Linked DNA regions of Homo sapiens: regions 2, 3, 4 and 5 are each linked to region 1. The links are contacts of gene promoters, found by promoter capture Hi-C in blood cells and fetal thymus (Javierre and others, 2016). All regions are on one chromosome and are shown on one strand. Each heading gives the region's core, a stretch centred on a gene start or on the middle of the fragment in contact. The rest is flanking DNA. Distances are from core to core; before and after follow the strand shown.

Region 1 (3,252 bases), core at 188-2,687:
CGGTGGCTGAGGGAGAGGGTAACGGAGGAGAGTTCGTGTTTAATGGGCACAGAATGTCAGTTTGGAAGATGAAAAGAGTTTGGAGCCGGACACGGTGGCTCACGCCTGTAATCACTTTGGGAAGCCCAGGCGGGGGGATCACCTGAGGTCGGGAGTTCAAGACCAGCCTGACCAACATGGAGAAACCCCATCTCTACTAAAATACCAAATTAGCCGGGCGTGGTGGCGCATGCCTGTAATTCCAGCTAGTAGGGAGGCTGAGGCAGGAGAATAGCTTGAACCCGGGAGACGGAGGTTGCGGTGAGCTGAGATGGTGACACTGCACTCCGGCCTGGGCAACAAGGGCTAAATTACGCCTCAAAAAAAAAAAAGTTTGGAGATGGGAGAGTGGTGACGGCTGCACAACGAGGTGAATGCACTTAGTGCCACTGGACTCTACACTTAAAAATGGCTAAAATGGTCAACTTTGTTATGTATATTTTACTAAAAAAGAACTTCAAAAGCCATTCCAAACTGCTGACCCTTCATCCTGGAGGCCGTGGTGTATCTGCTCCAGGAAAAATAACCGGTGGGTGAGGCAAGCCAGGGAGGAGGTTGGGGTTATGAAGCTAGGAGCCCAGAGGCACAGAAAAAAAGAAGAGTAGAGAAAGGAAAGGAAGGCCAGAGGGAAAGGGGAGCAAGGGACCCAGAAGAAGGGATATGGTGAGCTACTCTCTGCAGGGCAGGGCTCCGCCCCCCAGCAGCTTTCAAACCACAGTTGACGCAGAAACTTTCATCAGCACAAGAGGCGAGGGTGGCCCGTGCCCTGCGAACCCCCAGCACCATGCTCCCGGCTGCGTGGCCCAGCAGGGCACCGACGAGATTCAATGGCACTTCGGCCTCCCACTCGACCTGGCCGCACCCAGCGGCCCAGTTACTATACTCAGCGAGCCCAGGTTTCCGCGCCGGTCACCGAGGGCTGTGCAAATACCAGGCTCGCGGGGTGGTGAGCATCAAGTGACAGAAGCAAAGCGCTGAGCACTGGGCACGAGCGTCTTAGGGCTCGAGATGGGTTTTACTCCAGAAAAACCCAGCCTGTCCCAGGCTCCTCGCGGCCGCCGGGCTCGGAGCCTAAAGTTGGGGGGCGGGCGGGGAGGCGCTTCCCGGACGCGCGACCCCCAGGTTCCGGAACACCCGCCGCCCACACGGCACCGCCTGGCCCAGACGCCGCAGGCTCCGGAGGCGGGCGAGGCCCGGGGCGCTCGCCGACTTACTCCTCCAAGAAGTCCAGGAACAGTTTCTGGCACTTCTCGGCCACCTCGTCGCGGACCTCCAGGTGCTGGCTGCCGGCGCCCGGCTCCGCTGCCGCCGCGAGGTCCATATTTGCTTAGTGCCGAGGATTCGCCTGCGCCACGCTCGACCGCCACAAGTCGCTTTTTTCCAGACGCTGCAGCTTTGCGCGCGCCGCCGCCGCTTCCGCCCCGCCCCCTCTTCCGACCTGCACGGCCGGAACCAATCGTGACACAGGAGCTGGAGATTTCGCGCCAAACCTGACCAATGAACGGCGCCTCTCCAAGAGCCCCAGCCCACGGAAAGGGATTTCGCGCCAAATGCAAAGCCCTTCTGGAGAAAGCCCATCTGCCTTTGCGCCTGCGCAGTGTAGCCGTGGCCCGCGGGTATTTTTGGCTGCTGGAACAAGTTCGAATCTGAGGGTTTTGTCCGAGTGGTTTTTCAAATGTTCTTTAAATCATTCCACTGATATTAATTGAACGATCGGAGTAAGACTCTATGGAAGAGAAAAATGAGTAAGCCGCTTCTGCTGTCTAGTTAGAGGAAATAATGGAAACCACAGTATAAAACCCTGTAAAAGAGTCAAAGAGATGTCTAAACCTTGCATGGGTAAGGTGGCACAATTATTGTGGTGGTGCTGACCGAGGAAAATCAGCGAAATATTTGACATTGGCCGGGCGCGGTGGCTCACAACCTGTAATCCTAGCACTTTGGGAGGCCGAGGCGTGTGGATCACCTGAGGTCAGGAGTTCGAGACCACCCTGGCCAACATGCAGAAACCCCATCTCCCCTAAAAATACAAAAATTAGTCGGGCGTGGTGGTGCACGCCTGTAATCCCAGCTACTCGGGTGGCCGAGGCAGGAGAATCGCTTGAACCTGGGAGGAGGAGGTTGCAGTGGGCCGAGATCGTGTCACTGCACTCCAGCCTGGGCAACACAGTGTGACTCCGTCTCAAAAAAAAAAAAAAAAAAAAGAAAGAAAAAGAAAAAGAAAGAAATATTTGACACTTTGATTAATCTTTTTTTCTTTTTCTTTTCTTTTTTTTTTCAGATGAAGTCTCACCCAGTCGCTCAGGCTCGAGAGCAGTGGCGCGATCTCGGGTCACTGCAACCTCCAGCTCCCGGGTCCAGGGGATTCTCCTGCCTCAGCCTCCTGAATAGCTGGGATTGTAGGCGCCCGCTACCATGCCCAGCCAATTTTTGTATTTTTAGTAGAGACAGGGTTTTCGCCATGTTGGCCAGGCTGCTCTCAAACTCCTGACCTCAGGTGATCCGTCTGCCTCGACCTCCCAAAGCGCTGGGATTACGGCCGTGAGCCACAGCGCCCGGCCTTAATACCCTTCTTAAAATGCACTATTGGCTTGAGTTATCCTTATGTTTTTTTCCCCCATCTTTCCCTAACCATTTCACTTGGTTTTTCTGCCATCTCTTTGGCCATTCCTGATTAGCATCCTTTGTAGGCGCCTCTCCTTCAGTGAGTCTTTTAAATGTTCTGGTTCCAGAGCCTTCTTTTCCCGTAAAGTCGCTCTCTTGGGCGACCCTTTACACTCCCTTGGCGTTAATTAACATCTGGGTACTGATGATATCTATATGTGTATTTCACCAACCAGTACCTTTTTTTGGCCTCCAAGACATTAAGAGAAACGGGGACCACTTCCATTTTTTGAGGCTTGTTGCATATTAAAAATATTTTTTCTTTCTTTTCTTTTTTTGAGACGAGGTCTTACTATGTTGTGCAGGCTGACCTTGAACACCTGGTCTCCAGCAATCTGCCTGCATCCGCCTCCCGAGTAGCTGGGATTTCCTGCCACCACCAAATCCAACTTATTGAAAAATTTTTTCTTTTTCTTTTTTTTCTTTCTTTTCTTTCTTTCTTTCTTTCTTTTTTTTTTGGAGACAGAGTCTCGCTCTGTCATTAGGCTGGAGTGCAGTGGCAGGATCTCGGATCACTGCAGCCTCTGCCTCCCAGGTTCAAGCAATTCT
Region 2 (3,127 bases), core at 333-2,832, 550 kb after region 1:
CAGCTAGGTGTTTGGTGAATGTCAGGGAGGCTTGCTGAAGTTACAGTTTGTAGGGCATTTTTTGTCAGCCATGCTTGGCTCACTTGAGAGAACCACATGCAAATCCCTCTCCAAAGCACCATTTCCCCATGAATAATAGAAGACTGTTTTTGGGAGGATGGAGACCCTGTAGTTCTGTAATAATAGCATTTTCATGAAGGAAAATCACAGCCTCACCATGAGCACAGCTGAGAACATGGAACCTATTATTGAGACATTCTGGTTAAAATAAAGCATTATCCCATAAGATGGGTCTGCCTGTGGGAGTCTTTGGAAAACCAGGTGAGAGGGATTTGCAGGTCCTGCTGGAAATGAGTTGGTAAAAAAACATCCTTCCATCCAAGGATGATTAAACTCAATCATGAGGCTGCTAGGAAGCCCTGGTCTCACCTTCCTAGTGGGAGGCAAAAGTGGATAATTCACTGTCACAAAAGAAAGAGAGGAGTGAGAATGGGGTGAGGGTGGTAAAGTAGAAGAGGGAGGGAGGAAAGATTGCTTCATTGTGGAGTCCAGGCTCACTGGAAGTGTCAGGGGGAATAGCTACAATCAAGGGGTCCTTCTATGGGCTTGAGGGTGGTGCCATTTGTAGAGGACAGTGGGTTGATGTGGTTGTGCCATTGAATGTGGACTGTACCCCGAGTCAGAAACCAAGAGATGGGGAGACAGCTGCTGACAGAGGAGGCTGGGACCAAAGGACTTAGAGGGGAGACAAGCGAGCCCTTCATCCTCAGACAACGCGGGAGGCAGGGGCTGCCCCTTGACCCTCCTCTTATTACTTAACTACCCTTTTGTCCCCGTTACATTAAAAGACATTTTTGTTCTGCAATTTACTGAAACTCAGAAGTATAGAGAATAGTGTTTCCTGCATATTAGAATCACTTGGGGATCTTTTAAAAATTCCAAAGCAGAGTCGCTTTCCCAGACCATGTAAATCACTGTCTCTGTGGGTGGAACACAGGTATCAGTGTCTTTGACACTCCCTGGCTGGTTTTGATGCACAGACAAATGTAGGAACCACTGGCATTCCTGCCTGCTCCTATCACTCAGCCTCCCTCATAACCAACATGTGGCCAGTCTCGCTGATCCCACAGCTTTTGTGTCCTAGATCCCTAATTTTGCCACTGCCCACCCTCCTTCCCAGATTCTTCAGAAACAATACTAGGCTTCATGTTATTTCATTCTTACATGCTTCAATATATAAAAACTTTTTAAAAAGTGTAAAACAACATTATCACTCCCCCCTCCACAAAATGAACAGTATTCCTTAGGATCATCTAATATTCTGCCTGTGATGCTCAGTTTAGCTTTTGAGACATTTATTCCTCTACTTTATCTTTGATTTTAATTTGATTCTGAAGGGATAAAGTTTCCCCCTTATTTGGGGGGTAGTGGTGTTGGTGAAAGGGACATACAACTAGCTCACCCCTGATAACCTGCCTCTTTTCCTTAGGGTGACTGGGGGTTCCAGTCTCTTCAGGGACAGTCCCGCCCACATTTGTGAGGACAGTCATTCAGGCACAAGGGGCTCGTACAGTCATTCAGCAATCGTTGATTGGGAGCCTCTATATATTCAGACACTGTGTTAGGTGCCAGGGGATTGAGTCTGTCTTTGTCATCATTCTGTTTAGCACGTTGTAGGGACTCAAGAAGTATTTAGTTCAGTGATAGAAGTATATGTTTTGTTCCCATAAAAGTATATGTTTTTGTTACCATTATGGTCAGCAGCCAATCCATTGCTGATGTATTGAGTCTGGGTATGCAATACCACTTTATAAATCACATATGCACAACACTTCTACATCATACCTCTTTACCTCTGGAACTTCTACATTGTACCTCTTTACCTGAGAATCTATGAACATTTTTTCTATTAAGTAATTTTCACGACAACTTCATATGTGGTTCCCAAATGAGGTGAAACAACATGGCAGAGTTAAATTGTAGTAGCAGGGAGTGGGGGCAGCCTGAATGGTTGAAATGCAAACATGCCGTCTAAGCCTTATTCCAGCCACGAGGCTTCAGCCGCCTCTTTCTATCAAATCCTTTCAAAGGAGTGCTAACATGCAACAGAAATTGATTGGTATGAAGCTGACCTTCTTTTATTTATTTTACCCAGCTTCTAAGTGTAACACTTACAAACAGAGCAATAAAATGTCCAGAAGGCAACCAATGTAACCAAAGGAGAAAGTGGGATCTCACTGACCCACATGTTTTTCTTTTAGACTATTTTTTCTGCTTAACACCCTACTATGTTTATTATTTAACAATTCAAAAAATATGGAAGGAAGAAATGAGGAAATGAAAATCACCCATATGTTACCATTTAGAGATAACGACCATTATCTGCCAGAGATAATTGACTGGGTGTATTTCCTTCTAGTCTTTCTTTTTTCCTATGCCTAAATATGGACTGTGTACTCTGATTTAATTAGAGTTAGTGTTATTTAAATATTCTTAGAACTTTGTGCTTTCATTAGCAATTTTTATTCCGTTTTCTCCTTCTTTTTCTCATTATAATCTTGTAAAGGATGTAAGGAAAATATTATTCTAATTTTACAAATGAGAAATCAAGGCCTGGAAATGTTAAGTGGTTTTTCATCAATGGCCCAGAACTCCTCACTTTTTTTTTTGAGACTGAGTCTCACTCTGTGCCCAGGCTGGAGTGCAGTGGTGCCATCTCAGCTCACCGCAACCTTGGCCTTCTGGGTTCAAGTGATTCTTCCGCCTCAGCCTCCCGAGTGGCTGGGACTACAGGCGTGCGCCACCACGCCTGGCTAACTTTTTTGTATTTTTAGTAGAGACAGGGTTTCGCCATGTTGGCCAGGCTGGTCTTGAACTCCTGACCTCAGGTGATCCACCCGCCTTGGCCTCCCAAAGTGCTGGGATTACAGGCATGAGCTACCGCGCCTGGCCAATTCCTCACTTTTAATCCAAAGGTCTTTTATCTTTTCCACCCCTCTTCCTGCCTCCACATTTAGACTGTTCCAGAAGGTATCTGACTTAAACCTTCTGGAGATGGGAACAGAAATAGCAGTAGGTCCCACTTCCATAAATAATCTTAGGGATTTCCGCACTGACGGTTCATGCC
Region 3 (3,215 bases), core at 454-2,953, 880 kb before region 1:
GTCTCTAAACAAAACAAAACAGAACACCCAGCACTTTGGGAGGCCGAGGCGGGCGGATCACGAGGTCAGGAGATCGAGACCATCCTGGCTAACATGGAGAAACCCCGTCTCTACTAAAAATACAAAAAATTAGCCGGGCGTGGTGGCGGGTGCGTGTAGTCCCAGCTACTCGGGAGGCTGAGGCAGGAGAATGGCGTGAACCCGGGAGGCGGAGCTTGCAGTGAGCCGAGATTGCACCACTGCACTCTAGCCTGGGTGACAGAGTGAGACTCTGTCTCAAAAAACAAAACAAAACAAAACAAAACAAAACAAAACAACCGGTAGGCTATTAGTAGCTAAGTTTTGGGGGAATCAAAGCTTATGTGTGGATTTTTGACTGTGTTGGGGACATCAGTGACCCTACCCCCTGCATTGTTGAAGGGTCAAGTGTAATTGCTGAGGATTTGGTTCTAAATTAGTGAATAGAGTTGTTTGGTTTTAATTCTCAAGTCAAAAATGCTAGCACTAATCTTACCTTGATGCTTCGGCCACTGTACTTCATATGAGAGGTCGAAAACTCTACAACAAGAAAAACAATAACTGGATATTCTTAGTAGTAGAAAGAAAACAGTCTCAAGCCAGAGTCTGGGGATGGAGTAATACAGATGCTAAGGGGTCTGAGGAAAAGTTGTAGAAATTGGAGGTTTCCCCTGTGGAATTCACACAGAGGTGGAATCATCACACAAAACTTCAGGCTGCTGCCACTAGCAGGGGTTGCTGTTTTATATTTATATCTCTATTCTGACAGAAAACCTGAGATCTCTGGACCAGAGAGCAGACCATTTATCACTCACAGAACATTGTAATGCCAGTTCCCCACAACCCAGTTCCTCACAGGGCAACGTGATGAGAGCCGGGTGTTGACCTGCACAGCTGGCAGAGCTGCATCACAGGAGGGAGCTCTGGAATGATGAGACTCAGGTGGTATATTGGGTGGTGGCACTTTAGCCCATCTTTCCCTCCAGAGAAGGAGAGAGCACTTTACTATGAATTGTAAGCAAATGCCTCCAGGAGAAAGATGACTCTATGTTTTATTACCCTAGAATATAAGCAAACAGCTTTTGGGAAAATCAGCCTCTAAATTTCTCTGGAGCAATACACTAACTTCGGAGGCGTTTCTGACATTCAGTCATCTTTTAACTTAGTTTCCTAGTGTTTTTTGCTTAGAAAGCCTGAACTGTGCAGAAATGTGAAAATATTCTTGTATAAGTGTCTCCCAACAGTTGTTTAAACTAGATCGACCATAAACTCTGAAAGGTGAGTGTGAGGAAGACTCACCTAGGGAACGAGATGGGACTTACTAGGTAGTATAAAACTTACAAGTTGTTCTCTTCTTACCAAAAAGTCAGAATGATCCCCAAAACCCCATGAACCACCACCACCACCACTTCTGCATAGTTTGGACTTTCTAAAGCTGAAGCCAAAAGCTCCAGTGTCTCCAGGGTCAAAACAGTTCACAGAAATGGATGATGTGGGACAGGAAGACACAGCAGTAAATCGAGATCATATGCCCAACTAAAGGGGCATCATTACCCAGCTCGCAGTGATGTTATCCAACCCAGATAGATAGTCCAGCCCTGCTACATCTTCCAAAAGAAGCCAGAGAGCTGCAGATTTTTTTTTTTTGAGACAGGGTCTCGCTCTGTCGCCCAGGCTGGAGTATAGTGGCATGATCTCAGCTCGCTGCAACCTCCACCTCCTGGGTTCAAGCAATTCTCCTGCCTCAGCCTCCCGAGAAGCTGGGATTACAGGCACCTGCCATCATGCCCGGCTAATTTTTTGTGTATTTTTTATTTTTTAGTAGACACGGGGTTTCACTATGTTGGCTAGGCTGGTCTCGAACACTTGACCTCGTGATCCACCGGCCTCGGCCTCCCAAAGTGCTGGGATTACAGGTGTGAGCCACCGCGCCCAACCCAAGCTGCAGGTTTTATGTGAAATCTCCTTCCCCCACCCTTGCTTATTTATTTAAAATTTTTATATTTTTAATTTTTTGTATAGACAGGGTCTTACTGTATTGCCCAGGCTGGTCTCAAACTCCTAGGCTCAAACAATCCTCCCTTCTTGGCTTCCCAAAGTTCTGGGATTCCAGGTGTGAGCCACTGGGCCTGGCCTCTCCTCCCTTGTTTTTCAATGTTGTGAGGGTCAAACAAATGTCTGTAGGTCCATTTCAGCCTCAGGCTGTCATTCTGAAGTTTCACACGGAGAGAAAAAGACTTCTAAGATTTAACACAGTAGAAAAGCCAATCCCAGGTGAAAAACAAGTCACCTAAGAAGAGGACCCCAACAGGCAACAGGAGGGGGCACAGGCATTCCCCTTGGACACAGCTGGCCATGGCACCTCCCCTTCATTCTTAATGCATTTACTCAACAATTATTTACTGAGTGCCTGCTGAGTGGCCAACACTGTCCCAGAAGATGGCAATTTATAGTTGTGGGCAGGAAAGACAGATCTTTGCTCTTTGCTCCCAGAGGTTGCATTCTAGAGGTTGAGGTTTTCTATTGAAAAGATGTTAGAAGTTAATCTAGAAATACAACTGAATATAATTTATAGTTGGGTACATAATGGATAGCATCCTGAATTTTTTAAAAAAACGCTTTCAAGTATTCTTATAAATATTTGAATATGTATTATCCAGTATTGGTCAGGAATTATGTGGGGTAAAGACTTTTGGTGGGAATGTAGAGGCAAGATCTTTCTGGTAGGTAATTTGGTAACATGTGTCAAAGCCTTTTAAAAATGTGTAGAGACCACTCTGAGCAACATAGCGAGACCCCATCTCTACAAAAAATGTTAAAAGTAGCCAGGTGTGGTGCCATGCACCTGTACTCCCAGCTACTCAGGAGGCTGTGGTGGAGGATCACTTAAGCCTGGAATATTGAGGCTGCAGCGAGCCATGTTTGCACCACTGCACTCCAGCATGGGCAACAGAGCGAGACCCTATCTCCAAAAAAGTAAATAAAATAAAATAAGTACAGAGTTCCAATTAAAAATGGCAGATTGAATGTACAAGCTTTTCTCCAATCCCTCCACAAATCACACTAAAATCACAGTAAAAGAATTAAAAAACATGTAAATAAGGACAAAAAATAAAAACACCCAAATGATAAAACAACAGATGAGCAATATCAACATTTTGGACAGAGAAAACTATATGGACGAATAATAACTGATT
Region 4 (3,580 bases), core at 1,052-3,551, 940 kb before region 1:
ATATTTTGTTGTTCAGAGTTATGATATATGTAGAGGGTAAGTCCTATCACCTCCGCTGGAAGCTGTATTTGAGACCAGAATATAAATAACTCCTTAAATTGTCAACAGATGAAGGAACAGAAAATCTTCTGAATTTACCCCTAGATGAGTAGTCTTTTTAAAGTATTGTTCCTTTTTTAATGCATGTACTACTGCTTATCTCTCTGATACATAAAGCTGCATTTTATTTTGCTTTCATGAGCAGCATTTTTTTAGTATTTTAATTTTCCTAGAGTAATGTTCCTTTCCAGACAACTTTATCATCAACATTGTAATAGACCTTATTTGAAAGAACTGTTTTAAATTTTTCTGACATCTTAAGAAATAAGGAGAAATAAGGAAGTTAGAATTATGGCCCTTTAAAAATTTTCGGCCAGGCACAGTGGCTCATGCCTGTAATCCCAGCACTTTGGGAGGCCGAGGCAGGCGGATCACCTGAGGTCGGGAGTTTGAGACCAGCCTGATCATATGGAGAAACCCCATCTCTACTAAAAATACAAAATTAGCCAGGCATGGTGGCACATGCCTGTGATCCCAGCTACTTGGGAGGCTGAGGCAGGAGAATCGCTTGAACCCAGGAGGCAGAGGTTGCGGTGAGCTGAGATCGTGCCATTGCACTCTAGCCTAGGCAACAAGAGTGAAACACCGTCTCAAAAAAAAAATTTTTTTTTCTAGCATCCTGAGTTACTTAATCAGGAACCTTTACCCATTGAATGACTAACAGATTATATTAATTCAAAGTCCCGATTAATTTAAGCTTCAATGGAACTATATCTGATTTTATTAATGGCAAGTTTTATCATAATGTTGGCTTTAAGGGAGTAAACTGTTAATGTAGCCATTAAATAATAGGTTGTCATTATTTAAAGATAATTCCTACAGTTTATATTAACTGTACAAATTCAGAACTATTTCTTGGGGTACTGTTTAAATAATAGAAATTGACTGTTTTAAAAATCAGCTCAATGACCTTTCAAAGTAGAGCATAAATAAAATAAAAGGTACTTTTACTCTCTGGCTTTAGAAATATGTCCTTACAAAAATGAATATAGGTATATTCATATCAGTAATATAGTATTTCCTTATCACTTTGGTCAATTGTCATGATTTCAGAATAGGACAGCAGTAATTTTTCATATCCTTTATTTCCAGAGTAACTGTAATAGAGGGATAATTTCTTGAAATTGAATAAGGAGGTTCTCTGGTATTTATGTCCCCGTGGGTATGAGATACATTATTTTGGTATGTTTGGTCATTTCTAAGGTGGCAGGGAAGTTAATTCTAAAATTTACTCAGTGACTTACTGTGACTTTTGAGGAATTACCACATGAAATGTCCTAGAGTGAGTTTGTAAGCCAGGTTTGGGTTAAAGGCAGGTTTGAGTTGGATGTTTTTAATTGACTTGGTGCTTCCTGTCTTTAATATCTCTTGAAGCACCAGTGCCTAGGTTGTTTCACTTTACAGACTGTGCACATCTCCTTATTTCAATTAACTTACCCTCTTTCATATTGGTTAGGTTTTTGTTTTCTGGTGTTTGTTTCCTGTTACAGAAAGTAATTCAGTTTAGGCTTGCCACAGAATACAGGCTTTCTCTGTCACCCTCAGTTTATTTTCTCCATATTTTCAAACTACTGTGGTTCTTTTGTAATCAACCTGTAATTCTCACAAGATGTAACAGTCATGCAGTCTAGTAATGTTATTTTTATTTTAATCAATTTGATAATATTTTTATCTGACAGGCTTACCTTCAACAGACTCAAGAACTGGTTATACTTGAAACCATAATGCTACAAACTCTAGGTACGTACTTACATCAGATAATGGCTTTTTGTGTGTATTTCACTAAAGCATTCTAAATAAGTGAAAAGATTTCTGAAATAATTGTATTATTGAAGAAAGTTATTTTAAAACAGGTTTTAGACAGAATAAGGTTGCCTGGTTATAAGGAAATTACTTTTCTAGAATTTAATTTCATTTGGCATAATTAAATTGAATGGTAAACGTACCCTTCAGTATGATTTCTTAGGTTTTCAGGTAGTTGAAGTACTGTGCTTCACTCTGGATTTGCACTGGAGAGTAAAATGGTCCTTTAGGGTTGTTTTATATGATTATGATGTATACAAACCTACACAGCAATCCTTATTCTCCTCGAGCTGCCAGTCAGTATTTTATGAGTATATCACCTTTTTTATTTTATTTATTTATTTATTTATTTATTTTTAAGACGGAGTCTCGCTCTGTCGCCCAGGCTGGAGTGCAGTGGTGCCATCTCGGCTCACTGCAACCTCTGCCTCCTGGGTTCAAGCAATTCTCCTGCCTCAGCCTCCCGAGTAGCTGGGACTACAGGTGCATACTGCCACACCTGGTTATTTTTTTGTAATTTAGTAGAGACGGGGTTTCACCGTGTTGCCCAGGCTGGACATGAACTCCTGAGCTCAGGGAATCTGCCCACTTTGGCCTCCCAAAGTGCTGGGATTACAGGTGTGCGTCACCACGCCCGGCCTATCATATGATTTTTAATGTGACATAGTAATTATTTAAATGTTGGTCATCCTTTTCTAAAGGTTATATCTTTGTATGCAAGTTCATTTACTGTCACCATTCACCTTACTCAATTTACTGAAATTGAGGCCTAAGAAAGTGATGGCTTATCTAAAGTCATATGTTAGTTCTGGAAGAACCTACTAGGATGTGGTAGGAAGAACATGGGCTTTGGGGAGATCCAAGTTAAAATCTGTAGGCCTCTGACTTGCTTTGTAAACTTGGGCAAAAGTTCCTTTACCTGTTGTACCTCCATTCTGTAGAGGTGGAATAGTATCTGAGTCATATCGTGAATTTGTCATTTTTTTAATTTCATTACTCCATTCCCAGATGTTGAATAGAAGTGCGATAAATCAGTCACAATTTCCCATTGTGACAGACTCTTCGTTACAAAACTAGTTTGTGTGAAATACATATGCAGTTGACCCTCAAACAGCACGGGTTTGAACTCCATGGGTCTACATGGATTTTTTTCAATAAATAATATTGGAAAATTGGGAATTTGCAACAATTTGAAAAAACTTGTAGGTGAGCTGTAGCCTAGAAATATTGAAAAAATTGGATATGTCATGAATGCATAAACTATATATAGATATTAGTCTATTTTATCATTTACTGCCATAAAATATACATAAATCTATTTTTAAAAGATAAAAATTTTAAAAAGTTAGGCACACAAACAGACAATATGTGGCTCTATTCGCAGTTAAGAGAAAATGTAAATAAACAAATGTAAAGGTACATAAAATTAATTTTAATAATACGTAACTGTACTGCTGTGATAATTTTGTAGCCACCTCCTGTTGCTATTGCAGTGAGCTCACATGTTATGAGTATCCACGTAAAATGCTGTGTGACACCTGTCATCTCTGAACAGTTTGTCTCTCCAGTAAATTACATATTGCGGTAAAAGAGGTTCTGGCATATTTTTACCGTATTTAGTGCGATACTGGAAACTTGGATTAATACCATGGGACCCATACAAAGTGCCTCTAGTGAT
Region 5 (3,622 bases), core at 196-2,695, 530 kb after region 1:
ATCTGATACTTCACTTCTTTCCCTTTACTCTGATCTCCTAATGGAAAAGACCCATGTCTCAGTTGTCTCTGGGCCTGGCACATAGCAGCTGTCCAGAAAATGCTGGCACATGAATAATGAAGGAACATTGCCATGGACCAGCTGTCTCCATCTGTTGCACCAATTGATTAGATGGTGGCTGTTGGCTCCTTGAGTCTCCTCTTTGTCATCAGGAAAACATTTTCTCCCAAGTCAGAGGCACAGCAATGCTTTCCTTCCTAGGAAGACCTTTCTTTATGCATCCCTGACTCATGCCTCCCAGGTCCTTGAGTCTCCCTTTTCCCCCACACCAGCAGCTGTGCCCTTCATAAGCTCCTTCCCTTGAGCCAATAAATGAGAAAGCCATGCTTCCATTTGCCATGTGACTTTCGAGGTTACCAGGCTGCACCCCCAACTCCCCACTTTACACCTCTTTCCTGAGCCTCTGTCTTCTGAGATGCCCGCTGTTCCACCAACTTCCCACAGCCTCACTTCTCCTCCTCCTAAGACTTTACTCCCTCTTTTGGTCAACTGCTTCCTGCCTTTGATTTCTGTGATCGCTCAGCATTTGGTTTTCCTCCCCTTCTATTTTCTCCCCAAGCTGGTACTTGTCCACCCACTTCTTAAATACAGATTTTTCCAAGTTTGTGTTTTTAACCCCCTTTTCCTCTCACTAGCAGCACATTCCCTCTCCAGGGAGTTCCCTGCAAGCCCTCAAAGTGACTATTGTCTCAGGGTGGCTGAAGACTTAGCAAATGCTGGTAGGTTTTCTGGGAGTTCAAACATAGGAGGTGTTCTCAGGCATCAGCTCAGCCTATGCCCCCAAGATCAGGATCTCCTCATCCCTTGGGGTGATAGATGGGGTCTCAGGTGTCTCTCAGGGCATCTGAATGGAGTGGGGTCCACGGACATGCCCCACAGTCCTGCTCTGAACCCATCCACCACTTGCCCTATTTCCTGGACATCCACATAGGAAGGCGGCTGTAGGACCACCACTGCCCACTGAGGATGAGGGCCTAGAAAGTGGCTGGAGGAGCCAGCGTTGCAGGTGTCCAGAGAGCAGGGTAGGTTGTGCAAGGCGTGGGCTGCTTAGTGTATCCTGGTGGGCATTAACTCCAAGTGTCTTCACATGCCCTGGATAAGTATTTTTGTAGCTTCTATACCTTTCAGTGGCATCTAAGCCAGCTCTGTGTAGGCTGACTATCCTAATAATTCATGTACATTTTGCAAATGTACATGTTATCATTATGTTGAAGTACTTGGGATGAGAAATTTGATTGAATTTGAAATCTGTTTACATGATCACAAAAATGTCAATATTCCTTATTTGTCAATGAAAGAAAAGAGTTATTGAATTATTTCATTGTAATTTCAGTGTAGATTTTTGAAGGTTATAAAAATGATTTAAAAATTTGTATTACCTCCTTGTGTGAGTAAAGTGTCTTGTTGAGGGAGACCACCAAGAATTTAAAGGGATAGCCATGAAGAAGTGTTGTTCAAAGATTACGTGGAACCATTTCCAACCTGTGTCCCCCAAGAGAATGAGCACCTTATACCTTGCAGAGAGGTTGTACAAAGTATGTTCACGGACACAAATTCAAGTTTATCCACTTCAATATTTGAAAATATTTTATTTGGAAATTTTATATAAATTCAAAATTTAATACCTTTCTGAAACTTTTACATTTTACTTTTCTTATAATGATATAAAGTATAATGATCTTTTTTTTTTTTTTTTTTTTTTCACCAAACTCTAAATTTCCTTTAGCTTACCCAGGGTATGATACCAATGCTATCTTTTTTTTTTTGTATGCTACAACATAAAAAATGTTTGGAAGTTTTTAAAAACAGCTTTATTGAGGTATCATTTACACAGTGTGCAGTTCACTCAAGTGTACAATTCAATGATTTTGAGTACATTTATTGAGTTGTACAACCATCGCCATCTAGTCTTAGAATGTTTTCCAGTAAAACAGGAAGCACATTTTGAAGAAGATGAGAAAGGATGAGAAGGCTTTCCCGGGAGGGCAGAGCTTTGGGTCCCAAGCAACCAAAGGGCGAGTATGAAGGTGCTGAAATCCTGAGTGGGATTAGTGCCCTCAGCCCAGGAAGACCAGGGAATAGGTTATTGCTCAGAGAAGGGGTTTGTGGCTTAGCACAAACATCACCTCCTCCAGGGAGGCTTTTCCAGCTCAGACAGCAGCCTACTGCTTCCTTTCCAGGGCCCCAGTGTCCACCTCTTTTGCCATGGCAATCATAGGGGGATTCTTGGTTTGTGGATTGCTGTTCCCACTAGACTATGAGTTCCCTCTTCTGTGTCCCCAGAACTTAGCTTCATCTCTGGTGGAGGGCAGAGCCTCAAGCAATGTGAACCCAATGAAGAAATTATTTCCAGCCCTGGATCGTTCTCTCCAAGGTTGCTGAAGCCAACCACGGGCACACATGGAGATTCCCAAGCAAGTCACAAGGACGGGAGCAGAATCAGACTCCCTCAGCACATGGCTGAGAGAGTGTGCAGGGGCAGGTGTGGGAGCCCTGAGCTCCTGTCCGGCTCTGCTTCTGTTCATCTGTGCCTCTGTGCCATCACTGCTCCACTCTGTCATTCCATCACCTCCGAAGGGGGTCTGCCAGATCATCTGCTGCTTCATAGTTGCCTTCCCACTAGAAAATCCCATGATTCCAATGGCACGTCCCCCAGCGTCTAGTGGAGCTGCCTGCATTTGAAAGGACAATTTCCAGGGAACAAGGGAGGCAACTATAGGGGCTCTAGCCCCCGGCACTGCATGGGGACTTGGTGTCATAGCATTTGCCAGCCTGCTGCAGCTACCCCCAGACACGAGGGAAGGCAGCAAGCAGACAAATTGCCTTCACAACCTCAAGAAGCGGGTATATTGGCACAACAGCTTCTGTGGTTGAAGAAAAAAATGAACAGGTTTAAAGCAAGCACATCAAGCTGTTTTTGAGTGCACTTAATGGCTGCCCAGACGTGCAAGCCCCTTTTAAAAGCAGAGTGACTTCACTAATAATAGAGCTCCGTTATTCTTTATCACTGACTCTCAACTCTGCTCCATATTTCCCCTTGGTGTTCTGCTCACTAACCTGTTTATCCTCTCTTAGAAACCTACACTTAAAGGCAACATAAAATACAGCATGACACCAAGGGAAAGCTTTCTGGTGGTGGCTTGAGCTAGCAAAATGATTGTGGCGGTGAGAGAATCCTCTCCAGGCAATTTTGTTTCCAGGGAACTCAAGCAGGTGTTGGGATTGGGAATGGGTGTTGCTTCTTGGTGCCCACTTGAAAAGATGTGAGGGCTCCTTGTCTCTCTTTGGGCTCCAGTGCTGAGCCCTGGTGTGGGGGCAGGAGGACAGCCCAAGGGGAGACAGTGACTCTTCCTCTCCCATTCCCTGGGTCTTTCAGGACCAGTCTGGGCACCCAGGGACAGATCAGACCTGCCTGTGGTTTTCCTGTCTAATCACGTTATTAATTAACATAACAAATCTTCGCAGCTGGTGGCTGCTGTTTGTGTCTCATCCCCCCGCTCCCCCTTGCACACTAATTAGTGCAAAAGCAGGGAGCAAATCTTCAAGCACTGATTTGCCTTTG

The links. Contacts are between HindIII fragments. The CHiCAGO score rates a contact against its expected background, and 5 or more counts as called.
Region 2: a fragment that was not itself captured here is called in contact with the fragment with the promoter of MCM6 in region 1 in 3 of 17 cell types (monocytes, total B cells and total CD8 T cells); the score reaches 6.8 in monocytes.
Region 3: a fragment that was not itself captured here is called in contact with the fragment with the promoter of MCM6 in region 1 in 2 of 17 cell types (monocytes and erythroblasts); the score reaches 6.9 in monocytes.
Region 4: a fragment that was not itself captured here is called in contact with the fragment with the promoter of MCM6 in region 1 in 5 of 17 cell types (erythroblasts, naive CD8 T cells, naive CD4 T cells and 2 more); the score reaches 9.9 in erythroblasts.
Region 5: a fragment that was not itself captured here is called in contact with the fragment with the promoter of MCM6 in region 1 in 11 of 17 cell types (neutrophils, activated CD4 T cells, naive CD8 T cells and 8 more); the score reaches 11.6 in neutrophils.

The regions. Positions count from the first base shown.
Region 1 is chr2:135,875,006-135,878,257 of GRCh38, forward strand. MCM6 (minichromosome maintenance complex component 6) reads right to left here and starts at 1,438. Exons shown (of 17, transcript NM_005915.6): 1 at 1,254-1,438. The coding sequence starts at 1,360. RefSeq lists enhancers at 528-1,063, 833-962, 1,653-1,712 and a silencer at 1,033-1,192. The HindIII fragment of the contact is 12,304 bases long and covers 1-3,252 here.
Region 2 is chr2:136,425,270-136,428,396 of GRCh38, forward strand. No RefSeq gene overlaps it. Among named protein-coding and RNA genes, the nearest start is that of CXCR4, 310 kb to the left of the region's middle. The HindIII fragment of the contact is 8,463 bases long and covers 1-3,127 here.
Region 3 is chr2:134,991,023-134,994,237 of GRCh38, forward strand. MAP3K19 (mitogen-activated protein kinase kinase kinase 19) reads right to left here. Exons shown (of 13, transcript NM_025052.5): 9 at 515-558. Among named protein-coding and RNA genes, the nearest start is that of MAP3K19, 55 kb to the right of the region's middle. The HindIII fragment of the contact is 2,696 bases long and covers 356-3,051 here.
Region 4 is chr2:134,937,224-134,940,803 of GRCh38, forward strand. It overlaps CCNT2 (cyclin T2), which reads left to right. Exons shown (of 9, transcript NM_058241.3): 4 at 1,779-1,839. Among named protein-coding and RNA genes, the nearest start is that of CCNT2, 20 kb to the left of the region's middle. The HindIII fragment of the contact is 3,014 bases long and covers 795-3,580 here.
Region 5 is chr2:136,404,215-136,407,836 of GRCh38, forward strand. No RefSeq gene overlaps it. Among named protein-coding and RNA genes, the nearest start is that of CXCR4, 290 kb to the left of the region's middle. RefSeq lists an enhancer at 3,520-3,622. The HindIII fragment of the contact is 3,476 bases long and covers 1-3,183 here.